Regions from separate parts of the Homo sapiens genome. Here region 1 is linked to region 2. Evidence: promoter capture Hi-C in 16 types of primary human blood cells and fetal thymus (Javierre and others, 2016). All regions are on one chromosome and are shown on one strand. The core of a region is centred on a gene start or on the middle of the fragment in contact, and the rest is flanking DNA. Distances in the headings are between cores, read along the strand shown.

The links. The method cuts DNA at HindIII sites, captures the fragments that hold promoters and counts their contacts. A CHiCAGO score of 5 or more calls a contact.
Region 1: a contact is called between a fragment that was not itself captured here and the fragment with the promoter of MIR302CHG in region 2, in 1 of 17 cell types (erythroblasts). The highest score is 5.2, in erythroblasts.

Annotation. Positions count from the first base shown.
Region 1 is chr4:112,772,419-112,776,731 of GRCh38, forward strand. It overlaps a transcript of ANK2 not described here. Among named protein-coding and RNA genes, the nearest start is that of MIR302CHG, 120 kb to the left of the region's middle. RefSeq lists an enhancer at 1,500-2,026. The HindIII fragment of the contact is 3,326 bases long and covers 509-3,834 here.
Region 2 is chr4:112,647,934-112,651,640 of GRCh38, forward strand. MIR302CHG (miR-302/367 cluster host gene) reads right to left here and starts at 2,118. Exons shown (of 3, transcript NR_146092.1): 1 at 2,059-2,118; 2 at 580-666. It overlaps LARP7 (La ribonucleoprotein 7, transcriptional regulator), which reads left to right. Exons shown (of 13, transcript NM_016648.4): 9 at 1,602-1,753; 10 at 2,528-2,649. MIR367 (microRNA 367) reads right to left here and starts at 8; the gene lies at 1-8. MIR302D (microRNA 302d) reads right to left here and starts at 138; the gene lies at 71-138. It also overlaps MIR302A, MIR302C and MIR302B. RefSeq lists an enhancer at 938-1,660. The HindIII fragment of the contact is 6,288 bases long and covers 363-3,707 here.

The DNA of each region.
Region 1 (4,313 bases), core at 922-3,421, 120 kb after region 2:
ACAACTCAAGATGAGATTTGAGTGGGAACACAGCCAAATCATATCAGTGCCTTATTTTGGAGTAGCATATCCTGAACCCTGTGAGCCCCAACTCAGCCATTCCTTACTGGAGACTCACCTGGGACACATGTGAAAAAAAACCCACACCTGGATTACCCTCCTGAAATCTGACTTAAATGAATATCAAGAAATAGTCTGAAGGGAAAAGAAGGTACTAAAGGCAAATAGCCTCATTAACTAGTATAGCATTACCTAGGAGAAGAAGTGTGTGTTCAAGAGGGGAGTGTTGAGGCCCTTGCTGTTGAGTCCCTTTGGTACCCTCAGCAGGATGGGTTTTGTAAGCAGGTTATGCCTTCAAGTCCATCTTATTAGCTGTTGGTGCAGTTGCTTTCTTCTTCTGCTACATTTGTAAATTAATGAGGTGCTCCATCCTTTCACCTCCACTTAAGGGTAGGAGGTGACGGTACTGGGGAGCGTGTGTTCTGAGGCTGTACAAGAATTATGTGGAAGCTTTGAAAAGACATACAGATTCCTATTGCATATGTACCAACTGAGAACCTCCAGAATGAGAGCTTAGAATCTGTATTTTAATTTAGTTTTATTAATTTTTAAAGTGTGGTTGGATGCGGTGGCTCATACCCGAAATCCCAAAACTTTGGGAGGTCGAGGTGGGCAGATCACTTGAGCCCTGGGGTTCAAGACCAGCCTGGGCAACATGGCAAAACCCCATCTCTAAAAAAATGCAAAAATTAGCCAGGTGTGGTGGTGGATGCCTATAGTCCCAGCTACTGAGGTGGCTGAGGTGGGAGGATCACCTGAGCTCGGGAAGTTGGGGCTGTGGTGAGCCGTGATCGTGCTGCTGAACTCCAGCCTGGATGACGGAGTGAGACCCTGTCTTATTATTAGTTTAAAAAACACAGAAAAATATAAACAAGAACACAAAATTGGCCCATGTTTCCTTTATCTGGATAACCCATGTTGACATAAAAAAGCCAAAAACACGCATGGGTTTGGAAAATTCACATAGCATTGAAGATACAAAACAAAGTAAAAAGTAAAAACTTCTCTCTTCCCACCTACCCTTAGACTCTTTCCTAAAAGATTATTACTACTTTTCTGTGTTTTTACCTAGGTAACATTTGGGAATCCACTTTTTTGGGGAAAATCTCCCCCATTAATTATCATGATTAGTCAGATTTGAGAGTTGCTGCTCTGAGGAAATAGAGAGACACATTCATGCATTCAACTTGTGCCAAGACAGTTAGGCTTCATTAGCCCAGCCTTTATGTGGTAACAGATACAATATGTATTTCCATTCCATCAGTATCCATCCAGTAAATCTTTATCCACCTAAGTAAATTTTATTTTATTTTATTTTATTTTAATTAATTTATTTTTTTGATACTGAGTCTTGCTGTATCGCCTAGGCTGGAGTGCAGTGGCAAGATCTCGGCTTACTGCAACCTCCGCCTCCCAGGTTCAAGTGATTCTCCTGCCTCAGACTCCCAAGTAGCTGGGACTACAGGTGCCAGCCACCATGCCCAGCTAATTTTTGTATTTTTAGTAGAGATGGGGTTTGACTATGTTGGACAGACTGGTCTTGAACTCCTGATCTCGTGATCTGCCTGCCTTGGCCTCCCAAAGTACTAGGATTACAGGCTTGAGCCCTCCCAAAGTGCTGGGATTACAGGCTTGAGCCACCGCGCCCAGCCGGAAATCTTTACTGTGGTAAGTGGTGTAAGAGACAAAAATGAATTGCAGCCCTGGTCACGCCCTTAAGGAAGGATCTTCTATCCATGTATTGTAAGATATAAATAACTAACTACCGCTGGGCACGGTGGCTCACGCCTGTAATCCTAGCACTTTGGGAGTCCAAGGTGGGTGGATCACGAGGTCAGGAGATCGAGACCATCCTGGCTAACACGGTGAAACCCTGTCTCTACTAAAAATAGAAAACATTAGGCAGGTGTAGTGGCAGGTGTCTGTAGTCCCAGCTACTCGGGAGGCTGAGGCAGGAGAATGGCGTGAACCCGCGTGGCAGAGCTTGCAGTGAGCCGAGATCGCGCCACGGCACCTCCAGTCTGGGCGACAGAGCGAGACTCCGTCTCAAAAATAAATAGCTAACTAACGAACTGACTAACTAACTCCTGTAAGCCTGGAAGAAATGAAGCTCTCATAGAGGTTTAAGACATTGCCATGGGCAGCAGAAAGAGGACCAATTCATGAGTTCTGGTGGGCAGGCAGCATTTGAATTGTCTTTAAAGGATAACAAGTGAAATGGTAAAGAAAGAGGGGTGGAAACGGGAGGCCAAGTCCAGTCCAAGGAATAGTGTGAGTCAAAGTGTGAGACCACCACATCATTTAAGCAGGAGGCAGGGGCTTAAAAACTTATTGTCCCATTAAAGATTTGGAACTGTTTATAGACAATGGGAAATTTTGAACGTTTTTGAGAAGAGATTTAACGGGACAAGACTGATGCTTTGAAAAATAATACTTGTGGGCAACAGGTTCACAGAGAATCAGGCCGCTGGAGAATAATTTTTAAAGACTCAACTGAAATTTGTACTGATATTCAACACAGTCTCTCCACCAGTTTCCCCTCTTCTCGTGGGTTTTGTACAGCAGGAGTGTGATGGATGCTTTTGTGTTTGGACCAGCTGGAGGTGGAGAGGCCAGTTACTGATAATCTGCAGTATAGACAGTGAAAGAAAAAAGAGAGTAGGGCATAAAGAGATGTGCCTAAGGTAGAATCAGAACTTGGTGACCAGAGGGGCTGGTAAGAGAGAAAGACAATTAAAATGGATAATTCCTAAGATTTCACCAAAGGCGGTGGCTTATGCCTGTAATCCCAGCACTTTTGGAGGCCGAGGCAGGTGGATTACTTGAGGTCGGAAGTTCGAGACCAGCCTGGCCAACATGGTGAAACCCTGCCTCTACTAAAAATACAAAAATTAGCTGGGTGTGGTGGCACGTGCCTGTAATCCCAGATACTTGGGAGGCTGAGACAGGAGAATAGCTTGAACCCAGGAGGTGGAGGTTGCAGTGAGCCGAGATTGGGCCGCCGCACTCCAGCCTGGGTGACAGAGCTAAGCTCCATCACACACACACACACACACACACACACACAAGAAAAAAAATTCTAAGATTTTAAGATTTCTAGGCTAATAGACCAGGTGAGTGTTGGGTATCGTTAACTGAGAAGGGAAGGTAGGAAAATGGGCAGGTTGTAGGGTAGAGGTTGCTCACGGCTTTTGTAGGAAGATGGAAGTATATCACTTTAAGTTTGAGTTACACTGGGAGTATTCATATAGGGAGACCAACCTAGCGGACATGAGAAATTAGGTCTGAAGCTCACAAAATTGGTCAGAGCCAGGTATATAGGTTTGAGTAGTTGTAGGTCTATAAGGACTGACGTCTTGGAGGCGGATGGGACTGCATGAAGGCTGTGGTTTTCCACACTTTCGCATGTGTAAGAATCTCCTGGAGGGCTTGTTAAAACATGTTGCAGCCCAGCCACCCTTGGAGTTTCTGATTCAGTCTGGTTAGGGCTCAATAATTTGCAGCTCTAACAAGTTCCCGGGTGGTGCTGATGCCATTGGTCTAACTACTACGTTCTGAGAAGCGCCAGCCTAGGGAACGTGTAGTGAGAGAAGAGAACTAAGGGTAGGATTTGGGGGAGTGTTCTGGTTAAGAAGGAAGTGAAGGAAGAGGAAGTAGTGAGGGATACTGTAAGGGAAGAAAAACATCCTTTCCCTTCTACCCTCCTAAGTTCCCAGCTGGGGCCCCTGTAACAAAAGATTAGCAAGAGAAAAACATACAAATTTATTTAATATAAGCTTTACATGACATGAGAATTCTCGTATAGAAGTGAATACTAAAAGAAGCAGAGTCAAATGCTTATTTACTGAATTGGACAAAGAGCAGTAAATTCTGAAAATGTGACAAGACAAAAAGGCTTGAGCTAGGACAATTCATGGTGGAAAAGTAACTAGGAAGGGAAGAGTGAGCTTGACAAGGTTTGTACAGATTTTTCTCAGCCTTAACTCCCCATCTCTCTGGTAAAAATGTTACTTTCCTTCTGGAGTAGGGAGCACATCTTCCATATGGGAATTTTATTTCCTGTTTTTAGGAAGAAAAAGGAAAGGTCAGAACCTTTCTTGTACTTGCTGTTTTTTAAGTGTCTTTAGCTCAAAATAACCCTTGTGCCAAATTGGCATATTTTGGGGTGGCATATTCCACTACTCTTCAATACTTACAGATTTGTCTTAGAGTTTTCATCACATTGTAATAAAAATAGTTGCACATTAAATATG
Region 2 (3,707 bases), core at 868-3,367:
AGTAATGGCCTGTAGCCAAGAACTGCACACAGTGTGGGCGTTAACGCAATTGCTGATTAGGTAGGAACCACCACACTCAAACATGGAAGCACTTATTTTTGTCATGTCACAGCAAGTGCCTCCATGTTAAAGTAGAGGGGGCCCCTTAACAGATGTAAAAATACAAAATAAAGCTTAAATATATGAGCTGCGGTCAATACAATAAAGTTATTTTCTAAAAAAATAATAAAAATGTAAAAGGAAGACTTACCATCACCAAAACATGGAAGCACTTACTTCTTTAGTTTCAAAGCAAGTACATCCACGTTTAAGTGGTGGGGAGCCCAGTCTTGGAAAAAGTTAGAATCCTTTAACCTGTAACAAGCTTAGTAACCTTAAAACACAATAACAAAAAAATTTTGTAACAAAAGGTGTGCTGGCTTGGAGACACCTCCACTGAAACATGGAAGCACTTACTTTTGTTTCACACAGCAGGTACCCCCATGTTAAAGCAAAGGGGATCCCTTCAAATGAGGTTAGCGTGTTCTATTTTGGAGAAGTAAATTGGATTCACTCCTACTAAAACATGGAAGCACTTACTTTTAAAGTCACAGAAAGCACTTCCATGTTAAAGTTGAAGGGAGCCCACCCAACATACAACTTCTTTGGACTTCAGAGTATTTAGAGCTGAGGAGAAAGAAAACAAAATGGCATAACTTTAGAAGAAAAAAATTTTTTTACCTTCCTGAACTAGTTCCCAAAGATTCGTGTTCTCCTCCAGAAGGGTAAAAGGCAGGGACTTCAGCCACTTCTATTTATACTATTCTTAACTCTTGAATTCCTTTTGCCTTTTTATCTCAGAGAATCATTACAAGGGCCTTTTGTTATTTTAATGTATCAGCTCTCAGGGAATGTATGATCCTGGGTGGGTCTGGATCCTTTTTTTTTTTTTTGAAGTATACAGATGTCAATGTTAACAGCTAAAACCATTACCACAAGATATCTTCCTCTTAAAAAAAAAAAAGAAAAAGAAAAAGAAAATCTCCTATCTGCTTGTTTGATGGCATAGATTAGGGTAACAATGAGTGCTCCCACTGAGCCGAGAAAGGCATTGTGTTTCTATCTGGAGGAACTCTGTTTGAAGAAGCATCTACATGTTAAATGTATGTAAATAAATAGATTGCTTCCACGGGGTGTTTTGTTCTACTTAGAAATTCTTTTTGATTCAAGTAAATACTAAGGAATGTTATCTCTCAAATTGGAAGCAGTTTAACAAATCTTTAATCTCGCCCTTTTCCCACAGAGATGACTGATTTAGTAAATGTTACTAGTTAAGGAATTAATGCTAAAATTTTACTTTTATAAATTAAAATACTTCAGACACTCAAAAATTTAATTGGCAATCTTAAAACATTTAATCTGAATATTGGGGGAAGAGGAACTCCCTTAGCTTATTTTGCTAAATGTCTTTAGAACCTAGGAAATATTTTGAATATGTGTTTAAAGAAACAGGAAAGTTGGTGGAGGAGTTGCTCCAAGTCATTGTGAATGTATATATTTAGATATTTCCCTATTTACTTTTTATATTTAGTCATCTGTTATCACCATTTCTTTCCTTGTAGGAGCGAATGGATGGATTTGAAAAAAGAGTATTTAGCGCTACAAAAAGCTAGCATGGCTTCTTTAAAAAAAACAATATCCCAAATAAAATCAGAGTCAGAAATGGAAACAGACAGTGGAGTACCTCAAAACACTGGAATGAAAAATGAAAAAAGTAAAGATCACTGATAGTTTTGACAACATTATAATGTACTTATATATGTAAATGCTATCTCTGAGTTGTTATAAGATAAATTTTAATTTTAAAAAACTTGATTATTCTATTTCATTATTAGAACAATTCTTGATTTGTTAAGTTATCCAGATGTGTTACTTACTCTTGATATAAGAATATTTAAAAGGCTCATTTAAAACAATTTTTTAAATAACCTGAGTTTTCTCTACAGTTTTCATCAAGCACATGAGTGCAGAGTTTGCAGACTGAGCAAGTTTGTAGGAATGAAGATTGTAGTTTCTCACCTGTTAATTTCATTCTGTAGTATGCACCACAAGCAGGAACAAGTTAAAGCAGAATTCCTATGAATTCAAAATTAGGATACATTTTAAATTCTCATTTCTTGTAAAAATAAATGTTCACGTTTGAATAATAATGTATTTAAAACACAGTATCCTTTAACTTTTTTTTAACTTTATTGAGTAAAAATTTACTGTTCCTTTGTTCAGGGAGAAGGGGCAAATTTAAAGGCTTTACGAATGCTCTTCTAGCAGTAACAATTTGCATGTAGAATAATAAAACTTTCTGAGTTTTATTCATGGTATTTTGAAATAAGCAGTATGACATATAACCTTTAATTGTTTACTTTAAAATTAAATACGTTTTAAATTATTTAAATCTGCCTCAGGAATTATTCTAAGGTAGTCCTCCTAAGTATTAAATTGTTGTTAAGTGTAAGAGATTTAGTCCTGGTCTTTTTCCTTTTCTAATCAGCAGCCAACAGGGAAGAGTGTCGCACCCAGGAGAAAGTTAATGCAACAGGACCACAGTTCGTGAGTGGAGTGATTGTGAAGATCATTAGCACAGAGCCTCTACCTGGCAGGAAACAAGTCCGGGTAATGATTTTGAGCCCCTAGGGTATTTGTTCCTTTCTTCTCTTATTATTTCCCTGTGTGAAAATGTTTTGAATATGGAAGATAAAACAAATCAAGTTAGAATTTGTTTCCCTATGGTAAACTACTGTACAGTTTTAATTCCATGGTAACTCTTAGGTTTAATTTTGAAGCAAAATCTAGAGGCTGAAATTCCTCACTAAATCTATATGTAAGCACAGTTTAAACATCCTTCTCTATAGGAAAATTGTAACTTTTGCTTATTTTTATTGGCACTGATTTTTTTTGTATTACCTATGTGCTGATTATCTTTAAAATTTTAATTATAGAAAAGTAAAATATTTTTGAAAACCTCTTAAAATTTTTCACGCATGTGCCAAAAAACCCATACTTCTATATAATTTACGCTACAAATTGCTGTACATACAGGTTTATAATTTTTTCGCTTTATACAGTCTATCTTCTGTAGCCTTTTATACCACATTGGTAGCAATACTTTCTATTAGGGAAATTATATACTTTTAGGTGAGAGTACCATATCTTATTTACCCTTACCCTGCCTGTCACCCATTTAAGTGAATCCTTTTCTTTTTAAAAAGTGTGAAATGCTCTGTAACATACCACATATTTTAAGTATTTTCTTATACTGACATTCATCATCACTTAGTATGTTGTTTTGGTTTTACGTAGACTCATCAGTCACAGGTTTTAACTTGAATACCATTGAGGTGGTGGTTTGTTTATCTGTAAGCCCTCCTTATCTGAAATACTGTCCTACAATCCTATAGCTGTCACTAAGAAACAAATTTTGATCCTCTTTGCAATGTTGGTGAAGGATTTGGCCAAATCCAAATTGCTATTACCAGCTTGCATTTCAGGAGACAGCTGAAAATTGAGGGATGTAAATACTGCTCTGATTAATCAGATTGCAAAACATTTAATACAAAAATTGCTCAGAGTTATTTCTAATCAACTCATTAAATAACTTCTGTTATTTAAAGGGTAACTTTATCAATTACAAATTCATCATTTATGATCATCAAAATCATAAAATCAATCCC